Linked DNA regions of Homo sapiens: regions 1, 2, 3, 4, 6 and 7 are each linked to region 5. The links are contacts of gene promoters, found by promoter capture Hi-C in blood cells and fetal thymus (Javierre and others, 2016). All regions are on one chromosome and are shown on one strand. The core of a region is centred on a gene start or on the middle of the fragment in contact, and the rest is flanking DNA. Distances in the headings are between cores, read along the strand shown.

Region 1 (2,709 bases), core at 94-2,593, 210 kb before region 5:
CCAGAGTTCATCTGTCTCCTCTGCTTTATAATCCTCTGCTGTGATTGATGGACCATTGTGGCATTTTTTTGCCCCTGGAGATTTCCATCAATACAGAGGCAGTATCTGAAACCCCCAGATACTATTTCGCTCTCCCACTGCATAGCCCTGATAAATGGCCATAAGTATGTCTGGCAAAGTCTTGGAGAAAGATTCTTACTATATACCAGTCACCATGTATTAGTCTGCTCAGGCTGCCATAACAAAATATCACAGGCTGGGTGGCTGAAAGAACAGAACTTCATTTCTCACCATTCTGGAGGCTGGAAGTCCAAGATCAAGGTGTCAATAGTTTTGGTGTCTCCTAAGGGCTCTCTCCTTGGCTCACAGGTGGCCGCCTTCTCTCTGTTCTCACATGACCCTGTGTGCATCCCTGGTGTCTCTTCCTCACATTGCAAAGTCACATTGGATTAGGGACCCACTTTATAGCCTCATTTTACCTTAATTACCCCTTGAAACACCCTATTTCCAAGTAATCACAGTAGGGTTTAGGGCGTCAACGTATGAATTAAGAGGGGGGACAAAATTCAGACCATAACATGCCACTATGCAAAGTTCCTCCTCAAATGGACCTGGCCTTCATCTTAGGAATCCAGGGCTTCGATCTTCCTTAGACCTGGAAATTGGGTAAAAAGCTATACATTTCCACCACAGTAATTTGAGTTCTTTTCTGTACACCAGACCTAAAAATCTTCCTCCCATATGTGTTAAGCAGCACCTTAGAAGCTTTTCCATGTATTTCATTTCTACAGACCCTGAGATGAATTTGTCATTGCCACGGGGTCCTGAAGTTCAAATACTCTATTTGGTATCCTGCCCCTGTGGTTAACTGTGATCATTTCACTCACCTTGTTTATGATGAGAGGTGCCACCATCTGGCCTCCTCCACTCTGCAATCCTGTTAATTCCTATCAAAGCTGAAAACCTGCTGCAGCACCCACACCATCACCTCCAGCCTAGAGAGGGAAGCTACCAGTGAGCTCTCCTGGATGCCGGTGTGCCCCTCGCCAATACATTTCTTCTTAGTCCCTTGGTCATCCTGAGGTGTGTGATTAATGGACAGCTATGTGGATTGCACATAATAGATGTACTCCAGCATCTTCATCCCTGATTTTCCTTTACAGAAATCACTCAACCTTAGCAACATGTGAAAATCACCTAAGGACATTCTTTAAATCCCTCTGTCCACATGGCAACACAAACCACTTAAATAAGAATCTCCAGGGAGTCACTCAAGCATCAATGTTTTTTAAAGCTCCAATTTTAAGGATCATTACATTATGTCGAAGAAATTATAGTATTTCAGCCTTACTGACTGTAAACCACCACCATATCTAAGCATCCATTAGTCAACCTAGCAGACAATAAACTAACATTACCTCCAGGTACTCAAATCAATTCATTGCATCCCAAATCCCAGATGGGCCCACCCTTATTGACAAATTCAGCCCAATCTTGGTTGAACACATTTAGAATATATTTCCATGAACAATATCCGGTTGACGAGTTTCTTTAACTTTTTGGAGTTTAGGCCATTTCCTTTCACAGTAGCCTTGTAAATTCCCTGTCAGTGCTCCATGGGGGTCATGAGGAGACCTCTTATTAGCCTGTGAGGCAACTTGGCTCAGGTGCAGACACTCAAATGCTTCACATGCAGTGGGAAAGGAGAGTGATTGTCTACCTCAGTTGTCAATGGAGCCTCAAGGACATACGAAGGTTCAAAGTTCTCAACTCATATATGCCTGATCAAACGTCCCCATATGGTGTCTCAGAGTCAACTCCTTCCCCATCAGTGCCCTGACTTCGGCATAACAAACCTGGCAGGTTAAGTGATTAATCGGTCCTGTACAACTGTAGCCCTTAGCAGGAAGCACTAAGCTTCGTTTTCATTTATTTCTTCCCTGGAACTGCAAGAAATGAGGGATGCCTTCCGCCATGAAGTTTTGCTGATTGTCCACTTTGTTCTCAAGGAGATATTCACAGTTTTTAATTTGTCTTTCTCTCCTGCATGGTCTCCAAACCTGTCCAAAGAAGCCAGCTGGCTCCATCATCTGTAAAATCACCATTGTCACCAGAGCACTTGACTTCCTGTTGCCCTACAATCCACCTGCACTTTATTTCCTGCCACCATGATAATGTAGTGTTACTACATTTTACATTCAGCTGTAAGAAATGTCACATTCATTTACCTAAATCAAATTAAGTCTGCTCACTCAGTCCCCCACAGTGACCAACCTATAAAAGAGAAGGTAAATTTCAGTCATCACTGAGGTTCTCTCTACCACTGGAAAACTGAGGAAGGGTCTGGAGTCCACAGTGGTTAACATCATTGCCTCTGTTTTTTCTCCTACTCAATGTAACCATCCAAGGTTACTCACAAATTCACAAAAAGAGGTCTTCACCTCTGCTCTCAAGACCCAGAGGGCTGGGTTCTAGACTCAAAGGCCAATGTTCCCCAACTTTTTGCATTGTTTCAACATTGGGGAAAACTCGAGGGGATTCAAGAATGGTTATATAAGTTTTGTGGAAAAATGTATAATTTTTTAAAATTAAAATACAAAGTATTATGGAAAGCACTAAATATTGAATTTATATAAATATTCCAAATATTTTTCTAAATTTTTAGTGAGAAACTTGAGCTTGCTTCTGTGAGATATTTATTTTAAAACA
Region 2 (2,790 bases), core at 173-2,672, 160 kb after region 5:
AATAACACCACACAGCTACAACCATCTGATCTTTGACAAACCTGACACACACAAGCAATAGGAAAAAGATTCCCTATTTAATAAATGGTGTTGGGAGAACTGGCTAGCCATATGCAGAAAACTGAAACTGGACCTCTTCCTTACACCTTTTACAAAAATCAATTCAAGATGGATCAAAGACTTAAATGTAAGACCTAGGACCATAAAAATCCTAGAAGAAAACCTGAGCAATACCATTCAGGACATAGGCATGGGCAAAGACTTCATGCCTAAAACACCAAAAGCAATGGCAACAAAAGGCAAAATTGACAAATGTGATCTAATTAAACCAAAGAGCTTCTGCACAGCAAAAGAAACTACCATCAGAGTGAACAGGCAACCTACAGAATGGGAGAAAAATTTTGCAATCTATCTATCTGACAAAGGGCTAATATCCAGAATCTACAAAAAACTTAAACAAATTTACAAGAAAAAAGCAAACAACCCCATCAAAAAATGGGCAAAGGGTATGAACAGACACTTCTAAAAAGAAGACATTTATGCAGCCAACAGACATGAAAAAATGCTCATCGTCACTGGTCATTAGAGAAATGCAAATCAAAACCACAATGAGATACCATCTCATGCCAGTTAGAATGGCGATCATTAAAAAGTCAGGAAACAGGCCGGGCACGGTGGCTCAAGCCTGTAATCCCAGCACTTTGGGAGGCCGAGGTGGGTGGATCACGAGGTCAGGAGATCCAGACCATCCTGGCTAACACAGTGAAACCCTGTCTCTACTAAAAATACAAAAAAATTAGCCAGGCGTGGTGGCAGGTGCCTGTAGTCCCAGCTACTCGGGAGGCTGAGGCAGGAGAATGGCGTGAACCCAGGAGGCAGAGCTTGCAAAGAGTTGAGATCGTGCCACTGCACTCCAGCCTGGGAAAGATGGCGAGACTCTGTCTCAATAAAAAAATAAATAAATAAATAAAAAGTCAGGAAACAACAGATGCTGGAGAGGTTGTGGAAAAATAATGCTTTTACACTGTTGGTGGGAGTGTAAATTAGTTCAACCATTGTGGAAGACAGTGTGGCGATTCCTCAAAGATCTAGAACTGGAAATATCATTTGACCCAGCAATCCCATTACTGGGCTTATACCCAAAGGATTATAAATCATTCTATGATAAAGACACATGCACACGTATGTTTATTGTGGCACTATTCACAATAGCAAAGACTTGGAACCAACCCAAATGTCCATCAATGATAGACTGGATTAAGAAAATGTGGCACATATACACCATGGAATACTATGCAGCCATAAAAAAGGATGAGTTCATGTCCTTTGCAGGGACATGGATCAAGCTGGAAACCATCATTCTCAGCAAACTATCACAAGGTCAGAAAACCAAACACCACATGTTCTCACTCATAAGTGGAAGTTGAACAATGAGAATATATGGACACAGGGAGGGGAACATCACACACCGGGGCCTGTCAGGGGGTCGGGGGCTAGAGGAGGGATAACATTAGGAGAAATACCTAATGTAGGTGACGGGTTGATGGGTGCAGCAAACCACCAGGGCACGTGTATACCTATGTAACAAAACTGCACGATGTACACATGTTTGCCAGAACTTAAAGTATAATTAAAAAAAAAAAAAAGAAAAGAAAAGAAAACTCAGGGATCAGGGTTTTTAAGAATAATTTGGTGGGTAGGGGTCCAGTGAGCCAGGAGCACCGATTGGTTGGCTTGAGGATGAACTCATAGGCAGTCGAAGCTATCCTCTTATGCTGAGTCAGTTCCTGGGTGAGTGCCACAGAACTGGTTGGCAGGTCCAGGTGAGGCCAACCACTTGTCAGAAATGGAAAAACCTGAAAAGACATCTCAAAAGGCCAATCTCAGGTTCACAATGGTGATGTTATCTTCAAGAGTAATCAGGGAAGTTGCAAATCTCATGACCTTCCACGTAACAGCTGGTAATATTTAGAGTTCCAGCCCCTCTCATCCTAACTTGGTGGCTGGTGGCCTTTCATTCGTTTTACAAGAACAGATTTGCTTTTGGGAAGGGCTGTTATTTAAACTATAAACTAAATTCCTTCCCAAGGCTAGTTCGGCCTATGCCCAGGAATGGATAAGGACAGTTTAGAGGTTAGAAGCAAGATGGAGTCAGTTAGGTCTGATCTATTTCACTGTCATAATTCCCCATAATTTTGGCAAAGGCGGTTTCAAGATGGGCAGTCTTCTTCAGAACTCTCCCGAGCCAGTTTATCACCTGCTTCCCTGGTTCTGGTAAGCATGAGACTCCATGCCTTGCCCTCCTCTGAGTATAGCTGCAGACTAGAAAACACTTGGCTGGGCCAGGCACGGTGGCTCATGCCTGTAATCCCAGCACTTTGGGAGGCTAAGGTAGGCAGATCACTAGGGGTCAGGAGTTTGAGACTAGCCTGGCCAACATGGGGAAAACTCCGTCTTTACTAAAAATACAAAAAAAAAAAAAAAAAAAAAAAAAGAAGCTGGGCATGGTGGCGCATGCCTGTAATCACAGCTACTCAGGAGGCCGAGGCAGTGAGATGAGATCACACCACCGCACTCCAGCCTGGGCAACAGAGCAAGACTCTGTCAAAAGAAAGAGGAAGGGAAGGGAAGGCAAGAGAAGGCAAAGGGAGGGGAGGGGAGGCAAGGGGAGGAGAGGTTAGGTGAGGGGAGGCGAGGCGAGGGGAGGGGAGGGAGAAGAAGGGAAGGGGAGGCCAGGGAAGGGGAGGCAAGGGGAGGGGAGGGGAGGGAGAAGGAGGAAAGGGAAGGGAA
Region 3 (2,936 bases), core at 102-2,601, 180 kb before region 5:
TGGGAGAGAGGGAGATCTGTTATAAATGCTGCCAGGAGGTCGAGTCATGTGAGAATGTCCATGTGAAAACATCCACTGTGTGTATCTAAAGAGAGTGGCTGTAAAACAGGTCAGGGTCAAAGGTCTTATTGTCTCAGATGTTATCTGCATGCATTGTCTCACGACCAAGAAAACTAAGGAGCATGGACACAAAGGGTTAGGTTGAAGCAAAAATTTAATAAGTGAAAGAAGAAGGCTCTCTGCAGTGGAGAGGGGAGTCTGAGTGGGTTGCCACTTTGACAGCTGAATCCAAAAGCTTTTATAAGAAACTCTTCTCATATCTGCAGCTGTTTGAGTAACTTCTCTTACCTATAAAACTGTCTGTATAACTCTCCCTTATCTATGCAGCTGTGGGATGTCTCCAGGTAAGCATAAAGTGTAGCTTCTCTTGTTTGTATAACTGTGGGTTTGTTTTAGGCAAGCCCCCATCCCCTCCCTGTGTAAGCTCCCATGGAGCCCACCATGTGCATATCTGAGAAGTGGAGGAAGCTTTCTCTGGGAGCTCACTGATCGTACAAAGAACAAGAGGCTTCTGTGCCGCTTATCTATTCAGGTGCAGCCTGAGTTTTCCCCAGGCTGCTCTATTTTTGCCTGTAGCTATGATTTTTCAGGCAGGCTGCTTCTCTGAAGACTAGCCTTAACTGTCTACCTATCAGATTTTTCCTTTTCTTCTCCCTCAGCTGGTTCCCCTCACCAAGGCTGAGCAAGTGAAAAGGAGGGCACAGGGCAGGCCAGTAGTGAGCAGCAACAAGGAACTAAGACAGCAGAAACCACTCTTCACACCTGGGTTGAAAGGGGTGGGGAGCCAGGACTACAGCTCAGGTAAGAACATAGGTAAAGAGATACTGTTGTTGTGTTGTTTTTAACTATGAGAAGCATTGAGCTTTAAATTTCTACAGGAAGGATCCAGTTCAGACAGGAGCACCCAATATTCAGAAGAGAAGAACATGGTGTAAAGGTCCTGGGAAGGCTGAGAGGATTGGGACTCAGAATCCAGAGCAGAAGCCGTCTGTGAACAGAAGAAGGACCTCCCCCAGTGTAGCAAGAGGGAGGGAGGAGGGACAGATGCCAAGATGGTTCAGGAAGAAGGTTTGGTGGTAAATGTGAGGCTGTGCTCACCTGCTGGCTTCAATTTTCTCTTTAAAATGTCAGATGGAATCATTTGATGAAGGCCATGCCATGCAATGAAATGGCAGTCTGAGGCATGGAGCAGCTCCAGCTTAGCCCGTGTTTAGGGTAATTATGGCTCCAACCCAGGAGATGAATATGACTAGGGAAAGTGAAGTCCAAAAACAAATGGTCTCAAGTTGACTGTGAGTCTTCTGGGAGGCTGAGACGACAGGTGGGGTTGACAAGGGAAGGGGAACCCACCTGCTGAAAAACATCAGGCTGTTGGCTGGGGGAGGGGTGAGGCCTGTGTTGTAGAGATGGATGGATGCCTAAAGTTGGGTAAAGGTTTCAACTCTAACCTCTGCTGGGTGTGGAAATAAACAAAGACCACCCAAATGAGAACAAACAAAGACTATTTATCCAGAGCTTGCTCTGACAAGGGAGTCGGCAACCATCACTTGCTTGGCAGAGACTCAGAAGTAAGCAGGGGAGAAAGCCTCATAGCAGAAAGAAGGGAAGTCTTCATGTATGCCCTGAGTGGCAGCTGTAGATGTGGGTGAGTTGCAGGTGGCTAACTAGAAATGGGGACTCCTGTGTGATTGATTAGGAGCATGTTTGGCTTTCTCTGGTTGGTCCTACATTGGAAGAGGGAACAAAAAATTTAGGGCAGTTGTCAGTTATTAATCAAGTGTTGGCCATTTTTGACTGACTGTTACAGGAGTGACTGGCTCCCTGGATTGTTTGCTAGAAATAGTGGTCTTCACTTCCTGCAAGTCTGACTTTCTGGTAATAGGCTTCCTGGGTTGGCTATTGTGGATAATAAGTGGGTTTCCTGAGCTGATTTCTGCAGATTGTGGATCAGAGTTATTTTATATAAACAGTCTGACCATTTTCCACTGGCATATTCCATCTTCCAAGAGCTGGCCAAGCTGCTGTCTTATCTGTCTCCCCCAGCCCCTCCACTCTGGCTGTGAAAATACAAGCCACTAGGTGAGGAATGGGGACAATTGAAGACTGAAAGCTTTTCTTTGCTGGGTTCGCAGAGCTGAGGAAAGAAATGACAACATCCAAGTGTCTGCCCTGGGCCAGTTTTAGGACTGTAGTGGTAATGCAAGGACTGTGTGAGTTTATATTTTCATTTGTCTCTCTAACTAAGGTGGAAAAAAAAAAACAGAAAATTGTCTGTCTGCAGTCTCTGCAAAAGTCTAACACTGTGCTTCCCAACATTGCAGCCATTAGCCACAGGTGAGTATCAAGCACTTTAAATGAGACTGGTCCAAACTGAGATGTGCTCTGAGAATAAAACACACAGCAGATTTCAAAGACCTAGTACATGCCCTGATTTCAAGCTATATTACAAAGCTGTGGTAATCAAAACAGTATGGCATTGGGAAAAAAATAGACACATTGGTCAATGTGACAGAATAGAGAGCCCAGAAATAAACCCGTGCATGTATAGTCAACTAATCTTTGACAAGAGTACCAAGAATACACAATGGGGAAAGTCTCTTCAATAAGTGGTGTTGGGAAAACTAGATATCCACATGCAAAAGAAAGAAATTAGACCCTTGTATTACACAAAATCTAAAATTAATTCAAAATAGAAAAAGACTTACATGTAAGATCTAAAACCATAAAACTCCTAGAAGAAAACATAGGGAAAGAGCTCCTTGACACTGGCATTAGCAGTAATTTTTCAGATATAACATCAAAAGTACAGGCAATGAAAGCAAAAACAAGTGAGAGTATATCAAACTAAAAAGTTTCTGCACAGCATAAACAATCAA
Region 4 (2,831 bases), core at 311-2,810, 170 kb after region 5:
CAGAAAGCTGTGTAAAGCTCAGGGCCCTTGTCCACTAGAGGCAAGGTGCCCCCTGACCCCTTCTTCCAAATATACTCTTTTGTCTCTTGTCTTTTATTCCTGCATTCGCCACCCTTTCTTCAGTCCACCAGGGATTGTGGCAGGTTACAGGAACTGATCACAATTCTCTCTCCACTACCTGGGTTTCCTCCTAGCTCAGACAAATGGTATAAAATCTTGCAACCCTGAACTTACAGGATTTCTACCCGGCTCCTAAACCAATGAACAACTTCCTTTGTCTTGGAGATTAATCCCTAGGAGAGACTCCCATAGGCCAGGCTCATTCTTCCAAGCCGAGCATAATCCTTGGGTATCAAATGGCCAGTTACTCCAATTTCCAGAGGTTTGGGATCACCTCCAGGGAGGAGGGCCTCGTCTGAATGGTGAATGTGGGTGCAGGCCATGGGCATGCTCAGCTCAGCACTCTGGGGTCTCCTCCTCTATTGCATACACGCCTGTCTGCTTTCTATTCTTTAGGACCAGTCCCTACTGGGGAGCCTGTATCAAACAGCAGGAGCCTGTATTCCTGAGAAGCATGAAGAAGCCACAGCAGCCACTGTTGGTACCTGCCCAGATCCACTCAGCATCTCTTCCGCAGGTTTAAGGCTGCTCACTTGATCCCATTATACTCTGCTTACGGCCCTCTTCTGATGGCAGAAGTGAACTTGGCCTATAAAGGGCAGGCCAGAAGTACCAGTCAATGCCCATGAAAATACCCCTTAATGACAGATGGGAAGTTGGTAGATAACACAATTCCCTTGCTCCTTGATAGGGTAACTGGGTTATGTTCTATAAAGTCCCCCACAGGTCCCCAGTGGGACTGAGTCCCAGTTGCCCAGAGTGGTAACTCGCTTGATAATGCACCTTTTATTGGCTGCCTTCCTCTCTATTGTCTCCCTTCTCCATTCCTCTATCAGTGTTTCTGGAATCAAATTCAAATTACCATCTGCACTCAAATTCTGAGTTGGCTTCTGGAAAACTGGAAACTAAGAACAGAAATCCAGTGCATAGACCAGAAGCGGTGGCTCACACCTATAATCCCAGCACTTTGGGAGGCTGAGGTGGGCAGATCACCTGAGGTCAGGAGTTACAGACCAGCCTGACCAACATGGTGAAACCCCGTCTCTACTAGAAATACAAAAATTAGCCGGGCATGGCGGCCGGTGCCTGTAATCCCAGCACTTCGGGAGGCTGAGGCGGGCAGATCACCTGAGGTCAGGAGTTTGAGACCAGCCTGACCAACATGGTGAAACCCCATCTCTACTAGAAATACAAAAATTAGCCAGGCATGGTGGCGGATATCTGTAATCCCAGCTACTCAGGAGGCTGAGGCAGGAGAATTGCTTGAACTCAGGAGGCAGAGGTTGCAGTGAGCCGAGATCACGCCATTGCACTCCAGCCTGGGCAACAAGAGTGAAACTCCGTCTTGAAAAAAAAAAAAAAAAAAGAAGAAAGAAAGAAAAGAAATCCAGTACATGGCCTTCTAAGCCATACATCCTTCCATGTGGTTGTTTTCAATAATAAAGCCAGTATTTTCATCTCCATTGCCTAATGCCTCTGTTGCCCAGTTGATTCTGAATTCAGCAGGGAAAGACGCATATTATTTATCACCCCCCAAGCCTCCAGAAAACTGAAAACAGATTTGGAGAATGCAGCCAGGCACTGTGTCAAGTGCTTACGGTAGTGCTAGCTACTGTGGAGGCTGAGGCAGAGGATCACTGGAGCCCAGGAGTTCGAGGCTGCAGTAAGCTATTATCGCACCACTGTACTCCAGCCTGGGCAACAGAGCAAGACGTTGTCTTTAAAATATATATATAGGCTGCGCGTGGTGGCTCACGCCTGTAATCCCAGCAATTTGGGAGGCCGAGGTGGGCAGATCACGAGGTCAGGAGATCGAGACCATCCTGGCTAACACGGTGAAACCCTGTCTCTACTAAAAAAAAAAAAAAAAAAAATTAGCCAGGCGAGGTGGCGGGCGCCTGTAGTCCCAGCTACTAGGGAGGCTGAGGCAGGAGAATGGCACGAACCCCGGGGGGCGGAGCCTACAGTGAGCCGAGATCGTGCCACTGCACTCCAACCTGGGCGACAGCGAGACTCTGTCTCAAAAAAAAATAAAAATAAAAATAAAATAAAAAATATATATATTAAAAAAAAATAACAATTTGGGGAATGCTAGAGTGGAAGGGATTGAGGGTCTTTACCCCAGGCACATGCAGCAGAAGTCAGGAAATGGCTGTGTGGCAGAGTTCACAAGGGAGGCAGGGTAGTCTCAACCCTGGGGCACAGCTGCAGAGTCCTGTTCTTCCCAGGCACTTCCTTGGCACACCCGGTGAAGCTGGGGAACAGATGACTCTGCCCAGCCAGCTCTCCTAGGACCCTCTCAGGTACGGATGGCAGGAATCAAAGCCCAGTATACAGAGTCTTTATTTATTGGAAGTCCTGATATCCAGGAAAGCCGGGCCCATGTCCAGGGCTCAGGACTCCATCTGGCCACTCTGCAGGGGAGGGGCGTGGGGGCAGTCATTCATGTCCAGTTTTCCTGCCGTCAGAGGAGTCCTCAGGAGGCAGGAAGTGGCTGTGCCTGTGGAGAAAGTACATCAACATCTAGTAGCACCTCCTCTGTGCCCAGCCTGGGGAGCCTATGTAGACACCACAGAGGGAGACCCTGCAGAGCCCACAGTCTGGAGGGAGAAGGGTGTTGGGCAATGACCTTGGCCCTGAGCCATGTGAAAAAGTCAGCTGTGGTGAAGTGTCATGGGAGGCAGGGAACGCGCCATTCTGCTATATTTACT
Region 5 (2,700 bases), core at 108-2,607:
GAATAGATGAAACAGGACAAACTTCAAAAGAAAAAAAATTTAGGATTAAAACAAGGGGAATGAAGTGTGTCTAGGGATTCAGGACAACGAGGCCTGCGATCTCCTAGTAACTAGGAGAAACTAGGCCTGCGTTTCTCCGTTAGCCTTATGGCCTTATAGTCAGCTGATCAGGTGAAATCGAAAATATACCTTGAACAAGAGATCACCGTGAGAGGAGTAAGGCAGTTTCTCAAAAAATTAAAAATAGAATTGCCGTTTGATCCAACAATACCACTTCGTGGTATATACCCAAAAGAATGAAAAGGAGAGTCTCAAAGAGTTATTTGTGCATTCATGTTCATATTATTATTCACAATAGCCAAAAAGTGGAAGCAACTCAAGTGTCCGGAGAGGGATGGACCAAGAAGCAAAATGTGGCATCTCCACACAACGAAATGCTATTCCCCCTTAAAAGGAAAGGAAATTCTGACACATGCTACACATGGATGAACCTTGAATACTTTATGCTAAGTGAAACAAGCCAGTCACAGAACAAATACTGCATGATTCTACTTATATGGCACCTACAGTTGTCAAATCCATAGAGACAGAAACTAGAATGGTGATTGCCTGGGGCTGGGGGAGGGAGGAGTGCGGAGTTAGTGACGGGTACAGGGTTTCATTTGGGAAGATGAAAAAGTTCTGGAAAGGACAGTAGTGGTGGCTGTGCCACAATGTGAGGGTACTTAATACCACTAAACTGCACATTTTTGAAAAATTTAACACTTTAAAATGGTTAAAATGGTATATGTGATGTTATGCATATTTTACCACAATTAAACGAGCCACCCTGCAGTACTAAGAACTAGGAGCCTTTAGATGCATAAGACCCATATGTCCTCTTTATAATATTATTTTTTCACAGCTCCTGTGAGTCTGAGACTTTGAAAGGACAGAATCAGGTAGCGGCCCCAGCATCCTGGGAGGACCGCCCTGTCTCTCCGCCCAGGGACTCCCGGCGCGCCAACCCCAGCTGGATTCAGCGTAACCGCCCCCCAACCACCAGCCCGGCTGAGGCCCCCACGGAGGGTCCCACGCCCACTCGGAGGCGCACTCACAGGCGCACTCAGAGGCGGGCGGCGCCGCGCCCCGAGGAAGCCGCCCTCAATGCCGAGGTGCGCTGCACGTTCTTCCAATCAAAGGGCCCCAAGGTCGGGTTCTCAAGGCCAGAGCCAACCGCAAAGAGCCTATTGCCTGTTGTCCCGCCCTCCCGTGCTGACGACTAGCGAGTTTCAAACCCGCAGGAGCCAATGAGGACGCGTGGACGCGCGGCACGCCGGTCCTGGCTACAGGCGCGGCGTTTGAAGAAAAACTGTCACTGAAGAGTCATGGTGGGGCCCGGGCCTACCGCTGCTGCCGCTGTCGGTGAGTACGACCGCTGTTCCCGTTATTCTCAGGCGTTGGAACACGGCCGGGGAAGTAGGAGGCCACCGAGTGAGTTCGTCCCGCGGGAGGTGCCCGTCCGCTCGCCTGCCTAAGTTTCCCCTGGGCGTTTTCCATCCCGGGAGCGCAGACGGGACCCCCAGGTAGACGTCTGGGTCCTGGGCGGGGGAGGCTGTGCGCAGGCCCAGATACCTCACGGGCGTATTTCCAGAAAGCCCTGCAGCAGCCTTGCAAAGAGATGTCATTGTCACCACGTTCCGGATAAAGAAACTGAGGCCCCTTGCTCGGGTTTTCACCAGCAGTGGGAAGCTGCGCGCTGTTTTGATCCACATTTGGCTCCAGGCAGAGCCGGGCGTGGTCCTCTGTGCCAGGAGGCGGGGTCTGGCCGAAGCCCGGGTCTCCTGCCTCTGGCGGGGCTCTCACTCCACACCTCTCAGCCTGCGGTGGTTAGAAGTTGATTGGTTAAATCTGCACCCAGGGCTAAGGCTTCTGCGTTCCCTAATCTCTTAGATGTGCTTGGAGCCCTTTCCTACCTTTCAAAATACTCCTGCTCAGATGCCACTTTCTCCAAGATACGCACCGTTGTTTTGTTTCATCCATTATTCCTGTTGATGCCTACGAGGTCCTAGGCACTTTACATAACAAGCTTTAAAGATGGCATTTCTGTCCGCCTTATAGGCTTAGCAGCAGCAAAGTTTGCTAATTTGCTAGAAGTCACGGAGGTGGGACTCCAACCCCCTATGTCAGCCCCTACGCTCTACATTGCCCGCCAAGCTGTCTCTAAGGATAGATACATGAGCATCAGAGAGCAAAACAGGGCAACTCCGTTCAGATGAGGTTAAGAGTCGTTTGGCACCCCTGTCGTCTTTTTGTCTTCCTTCACATCATTATTTACTTTTAACCTTTTCTAGCCACCTACTCCCCTCATTTATGCCCTACCTCTGAACTCCCATACTTCTTTTCGTCTCTTATGGCCCTTAGATTTTACCTTATACTGTAATTGTTGCTGTGTTGATTTTATCTCCACTACTAGTTTGAAAGTTCTTGAAGGCAGAAATTATTGACTTGTCATCCCCTCACAAATGGCTTGCGTAGAAAGTCACCATAGTATAGGTGTCTGCCGTGAGCAGACCGGGCGTATTTTATCCTTAGTACCAACAAAGGAAGCCATATAAGGGTTTGTGGGTAAAAATCATCATCCCTGTAAAAAAACAAAAGACGTAAGACCAGGCCTGGCTCACCAGCTCAGGTGGGCCAGTAACAGAAATTCTTCAAAAC
Region 6 (2,888 bases), core at 182-2,681, 230 kb after region 5:
TCACTTCCAACAACATGGATGGAACTGAAGATCGTTATGTGAAGTGAAATTAGCCAGGTAAGTTTTGAAGTAAGCCAGGTCCTATCTCTAAAAAAATTGTTTTAAATTAGCCAAGTATGGTGGCAGGCACCTATAGTTCCAGCTACTTGGGTGGCTAAGGTGGGAAGATTACTTGAAACCAGAAGTTTGAGGCTGCAGTGAGCTATCATTACACCACTAGACTCCAACCTAGGCAACAGAGCAAGACTCTGTCTCTAAATAATAAAAATAAAAATAAAATGAAGTGTGTTTTTTGTAGATAGCATATAGTTGGATCATGATTTTTAAAAAAAATCAATTTGCCAATCTCTACCTTCTGATTGGAGTATTTAATTCATTTGCATTTAATGAAATTACTGATAAGGCAGGATTTATCTACCATTTTACTGTTGGTTTCTTTAGGCCTCTTGCCTTTTTTTTCTCCTCTATTTTTCATTACTTCCTTCTCTTTTCTTATATATTTTCTAGTGTAACATTTCTGTTTCCTTGTCATTTTTTACTATATATTTAAAATTATTTACTTAGTGGCTGGTGTGTCTTGAGGTGGACTCTTTGAGTCTTTCCTGCTTAGAATTTGTTGAGCTTCTTGGATTCACTTTAATGTTTTTCCTCAAAGTGGGAAAGGTTTTGGCCACTATTTCTTCCAGTATATGTTTTATCCCCTTCCCTCTCTCTCACTTATCTATTCTAGGACTCCTATTATGTGTATGTTGGTATGTTTGATGGTGTCTGACGGGTGTCTGAAGCACTGATCATTTTTCTTTGCTGATTTTTTTTTTCTGTTCCACAGACTGGATAATCTCAAATGACTTCTAATTTGCTGATTACTTCTTTTACCAGTTCACACATTTTTTAAACTTCTCAAGTAAATCTTTCATTTGCATTTTTGTACTTTGCAACTCTAAAATTTCTACTTGGTTCTATTTTATAAACTAACTTTCTTTCCTTTTTTCTTTTCTTTCTTCTTTCTCTTTTTTCTTTCTCAATCTTTCTCTTTTCTTCCCTCCCTCCTTTCCCTCCCTCCCTCCCTTTCTCCTTCTTTCTGCCTGCCTTTCTTTCCTTTCTCTTTCTTCCTCTCTCTTTCTCCCCTTCCTACCTTTCCTCCCTCCCTCTTTCCCTCCTTCTGCCTCTGTCCTCTCTGTTTGTGCAGACACTTAAGGTCAGACGAAAGAGCTGGGGAATTCTCAGGTCTCTTCTGGGCATGTGCACAGTCCTACACATGTGTGTGGCCTTCTGCATTCTTAGGAATAGGTTGAAGCTTTTCAAAACGTCCTATAGAAATCTCATTCCCAGTTTTTCCTTCTAAGTCTTTTGGTCAGTTTGTTTGTTCCAACTGTTACAGCCACCTTAGGAAGCTGAGATGTTCAACAATTGCTGTTGATTTTTTTTGACAAATGCACCCAGGGAAAAGGTTGTTCACACTGGGTAACCTCTTAGTCACATCAAATAAAGACAAGACCTAGGAGTAGGGACTTACATGGAACTACCAAAAAGGCCAAATGGCAATTCTCTGGTAATGAAGCTTTGGAGGAGTTCCAATCCCCTTCTGAGCCCTACGGTGGCTGCTCTGCTGCTGGATGTCAGCATGATTGTGTGGCCGAGGCTGTTGTGGAGCTGGGGAAAGGGGGAGTGGGAATAGGGTACATTAAAATGTCAGAAAGCTTGCTTTTCTTACCCAGATGCAACCCTTTCCTTTTTTTTTTTTTTTTTTTTTTGAGACAGAGTCTCGCACTGTCACCCAGGCTGGATGGAGTGCAGTGGCGTGATCTCGGCTCACTGCAAGCTCTGCCTCCTAGGTTCACGCCATTCTCCTGCCTCAGCCTCCCAAGTAGCTGGGACTACAGGCACCTGCCACCGCGCCCGGCTAATTTTTTGTATTTTTAGTAGAGATGGGGTTTCACTGTGTTAGCCAGGATGGTCTCCATCTCCTGACCTCGTGATCGCCCGCCTTGGCCTCCCGAAGTGCTGGGATTACAGGCCTTTTCTTGAATAAATGGATTGCTGCAAGCCTCTGGTTAATGTCTAGACAGTTTTGCTAGTGTTCTCATTGCTTTTATGGAAGAGAGGGTTTTCAGAGGTTGTTACTCTATTATGCCCACTGATGTCCTCTCATAATTTTTGAAAGGAATTATGCTTGCAACAATCTTCAAGTTCTGCTACTATGTATTGCATTGGAGAGGGGTTCATTTTCCTTTGCCTTCAGGGACTGCTATGGTTTGAATGTGTTCCCCAAAGTAAATGTGTTGGAAACTTAATCTCTACTGCAATAGTGTTGAGAGGTGGGACCTGTAAGAGGTTAGGTCACGAGAGCTCTACCCTCATGAATAAATTAATGATGTTATGCCAGGAGTGGGTTAGTTATCACAGGAATGGGTTGCTAGTTAAAGGGTGAGTTAGACTCCATTCCTCTCTTGCCATGTGATGCCTTCTGCCATGCTGAGGCAGCAAGAAGGCCCTCACCAGATATAGCCCCTTGATATTGGACTTCTCATCCTCCAGAACCGTGAGCCACATACACTTCTCTGTAACATTCTGTTATGGCAATACAAAATAGACTAAGATATGGAGGGATGCTTTGGGGAAAACACTTCTAAAATATGGGTTATGGGAGAACTTCAGGTTAAGAAGGAGGTGTAGCTACTGACAGGAAGTGGGACCAGTCTTTAAGAGAAGTCTTCCAAAGGCTTTGGGCCTGTCCACTCTCAGGGTCCTAAGTAGGTGCCTGCCTGGATCCATGTCTGCTTGCACCCTGCACCCTGCACCCTGCCCATGCAATCTCTGCTGAGTCCACTGGGAATGTGTCATAGTGTATGTGAAACCTGTTTGGAGTGGAGTGCCTACACAGGGCT
Region 7 (2,700 bases), core at 7-2,506, 220 kb before region 5:
GCAAACTGTAAGCTAGACTAAGAAAAAAAGAATATTCAAATAAATAAAATCAGAAATGAAAAGGGAGATGTTAAAGCTGATACCACTGAAATACAAAGAATCATAGAGACTATTATGAACAATTATATGCCAACAAATTGGAAAACCTTGAAGAAATAGATAAATTCCTGGACACATAAAACCTACCACTATTGAAATATGAAGAAATAAAAAGACTGAACAGATCAATAGGGAAGGAGATTTAATTAGCAGTTTAAAACTCTTCCATCAAAGAAAACCCCAGGGCCTGATGGCTTCATTCCTTAATTCTATCAAGCATTTAGTGAAGAACTAACACCAAGCCTTTTCACACTATTTCACAAAGTTGAAGAGAGTGGAATTCTTTCAAACTCATTCCATAAGGCCAGCATCATCCTGATGTCAAAATCAGACCAGAACACCACCAAAAAGGAAAACTACAGACCAACATCGCTAATGAACATAGATGCAAAATTCCATAATAAACTACTAGCAAACCAAACTCAAATAGCACATTAAAAGGATTATTCACCATAGCCAATCATCCCAGGTATGCAAGGATGGTTCAATACACACAAATCAATAAATATAATATACCACGTTAACAAAATGAAAGAAAAAATATATAATCATTTCAAAAGACGCAGAAAAAAACATTTGACAAAATTCAACATCTCTTCATGATAAAAACTCTCAATGGATTAGGTATAGAAGGAATGTATCTGAACATAAGAAAGGCCATATACAACAAACCCATGGCTAACATCATACTGAATGGGGAAAAGTTTGAAGCTTTTATTCTAAGATTTGGAAGAAAAAAAGAATGCCCACTTTCACCACTTCTATTCAACATAGTACTGGAAGTCCTAGCCAGAGCCAGACAAAAGAAAGAAATAAAGGGCGTCCAAATTGGAAAGGAGAAAGTTAATTGTCCATGTTTGCTTTTGACATGCTCTTATACACTAAAAATCTTAAACATCGAAAAAAAACTGTTAGATCTAATAAACTAATTCAATAAAGTTGCAGGTTACAAAATCAACGTTCAAAAAACAGTAGCATTTTTTTTAACTTTAAGTTCTGGGATACACATGCAGATTTGTTACACACATGTGCCATGGTGGTTTGCCACACCTATCAATCCATCATCTAGGTTTTAAGCCCCACATTATGTATTTGTCCTAATGCTCTCCCTCCCTTTACCCCCCATCCCCTGACAGGCCCCAGTGCCTGATGTTCCCCTCCCTGTGTCTATGTGTTCTCATTGTTCAACTCCCACTTAAGAGTGAGAACATGTGGTGTTTGCTTTTCTGTTCCTGTGTTAGTTTGCTGAGAATAATGGTTTCCAGCTTCACCCATGTCCCTGCAAAGGACAGGAACTCATTCTTTTTATGGCTGCATAGTATTCCATGGTGTATATGTGCCACATTTTCTTTATCCAGTCTAACACTGATGGACATTTAAGTTAGTCCCAAGTCTTTGCTGAAAAAACAGTAGCATTTTTATACACTAATAGCAAACATTACTCTAAGCAAATTATTAAGCAAATGATTCTTTTTAAATCAAGTGATAAAGTAATTCTACAACATGAGATTTAATGGTGAAGACCTACTGCCAAGGCACTGGGAACACTGATGAATTAGTCATGGCTCCCACCACTGTGAACATGATACTAACAACAAGCTTTGTGTTAAATAAACATATGCCTCTATTATATATTTATTATATTTTAACCATGAGTCTTAATGGTTTGATGAAATGACATCAAGAAAAAATGAAATATGAGAGATTTTAGCATCATCATAACTAATGCAGCTAAACAGAGTTAATAAAGGTGTGGGCATTATTACACACTTAATTTAAAAAACAATCTCTAAACATAGTGGGTAAGATTATGATATATGCTATGATACAACATCAAAGTCTGAGGAAGATTTACCTAATTAAAGTAGACATTGTTTTGTCCCCAAAAAAGAAGGGAAACATGATTTAAAACAAATAAAGCTTTTTGTAGTCTCTTTTCATTTTTAATTCATGAAATAGGAAATTAATTTGCTTTGTGACAGAATTTTAAATGATTTTTGTCAAGACTACAAAAATTGCTTTACACTAAAAAATACTACGTCTTCTATGGGGTTGAGTGCCTTTGTGACAATTTGTAAAATATTAAAACAGAGACACACACATGCACCTTAGAGTATTAAAAGTCATTGTAGTAAATGCTATAATTGTCATTATTATTATAAAAAATAATAAATAAATGATGTTAGAAAAATTGGATATCCACACGCAGAAAAATAAAATTGACTCATCTCTCACCATATACAAAAATTAAGATGGATTAAATACTTAAACGTAAGACTTGAAACTATGAAACTACTAGAAGAAAACATAGGAGAAACATTGTCTGAGCAAGGATTTTTTGGATAAGACCTCAAAATCAAAGGCAAAAAACAAAATCAGAAATAAACAAATGTGTGACTATATCAAACAAGAGAGCTTCTGTATAGAAAAGGAAACAATCAACAGAGTGAAGAGACAACTTACAGAATGGGAGAAAATATTTTCAAACTATACATCTGACAAGGGGTAAATATCAAAAATACATAGCGAACTTAAACAACTCAGTTGCAAATAATAATAATAATAAATAAATAACCTGTTTGAAAAACAGGCAAAATACCT

What was found. The method cuts DNA at HindIII sites, captures the fragments that hold promoters and counts their contacts. A CHiCAGO score of 5 or more calls a contact.
Region 1: a fragment that was not itself captured here is called in contact with the fragment with the promoter of CKAP2L in region 5 in 1 of 17 cell types (M2 macrophages); the score reaches 5.6 in M2 macrophages.
Region 2: a fragment that was not itself captured here is called in contact with the fragment with the promoter of CKAP2L in region 5 in 2 of 17 cell types (monocytes and M1 macrophages); the score reaches 5.7 in monocytes.
Region 3: a contact is called between a fragment that was not itself captured here and the fragment with the promoter of CKAP2L in region 5, in 6 of 17 cell types (megakaryocytes, endothelial precursors, M0 macrophages and 3 more). The highest score is 12.0, in megakaryocytes.
Region 4: a fragment that was not itself captured here is called in contact with the fragment with the promoter of CKAP2L in region 5 in 1 of 17 cell types (neutrophils); the score reaches 5.0 in neutrophils.
Region 6: a contact is called between a fragment that was not itself captured here and the fragment with the promoter of CKAP2L in region 5, in 1 of 17 cell types (fetal thymus). The highest score is 5.1, in fetal thymus.
Region 7: a fragment that was not itself captured here is called in contact with the fragment with the promoter of CKAP2L in region 5 in 1 of 17 cell types (M1 macrophages); the score reaches 5.4 in M1 macrophages.

What each region holds. Positions count from the first base shown.
Region 1 is chr2:112,968,724-112,971,432 of GRCh38, reverse strand. No RefSeq gene overlaps it. Among named protein-coding and RNA genes, the nearest start is that of IL36G, 7.9 kb to the left of the region's middle. The HindIII fragment of the contact is 1,152 bases long and covers 768-1,919 here.
Region 2 is chr2:112,607,240-112,610,029 of GRCh38, reverse strand. The region is part of intron 1 of LOC124907869 (a long non-coding RNA gene); the gene reads right to left. Among named protein-coding and RNA genes, the nearest start is that of CHCHD5, 24 kb to the right of the region's middle. The HindIII fragment of the contact is 4,928 bases long and covers 1-2,790 here.
Region 3 is chr2:112,944,739-112,947,674 of GRCh38, reverse strand. No RefSeq gene overlaps it. Among named protein-coding and RNA genes, the nearest start is that of IL36G, 32 kb to the left of the region's middle. The HindIII fragment of the contact is 1,642 bases long and covers 531-2,172 here.
Region 4 is chr2:112,588,655-112,591,485 of GRCh38, reverse strand. It overlaps CHCHD5 (coiled-coil-helix-coiled-coil-helix domain containing 5), which reads right to left. Exons shown (of 4, transcript NM_032309.4): 4 at 2,446-2,620. The coding sequence ends at 2,597. Among named protein-coding and RNA genes, the nearest start is that of CHCHD5, 5.5 kb to the right of the region's middle. The HindIII fragment of the contact is 3,880 bases long and covers 1-2,831 here.
Region 5 is chr2:112,763,266-112,765,965 of GRCh38, reverse strand. It overlaps CKAP2L (cytoskeleton associated protein 2 like), which reads left to right and starts at 1,357. Exons shown (of 9, transcript NM_152515.5): 1 at 1,357-1,404. The coding sequence starts at 1,368. RefSeq lists a silencer at 978-1,137 and an enhancer at 1,588-1,727. The HindIII fragment of the contact is 4,243 bases long and covers 1-2,070 here.
Region 6 is chr2:112,533,190-112,536,077 of GRCh38, reverse strand. It overlaps TTL (tubulin tyrosine ligase), which reads right to left. Exons shown (of 7, transcript NM_153712.5): 7 at 1-2,888. Among named protein-coding and RNA genes, the nearest start is that of POLR1B, 7.8 kb to the left of the region's middle. The HindIII fragment of the contact is 264 bases long and covers 1,300-1,563 here.
Region 7 is chr2:112,987,674-112,990,373 of GRCh38, reverse strand. No RefSeq gene overlaps it. Among named protein-coding and RNA genes, the nearest start is that of IL36G, 11 kb to the right of the region's middle. The HindIII fragment of the contact is 888 bases long and covers 813-1,700 here.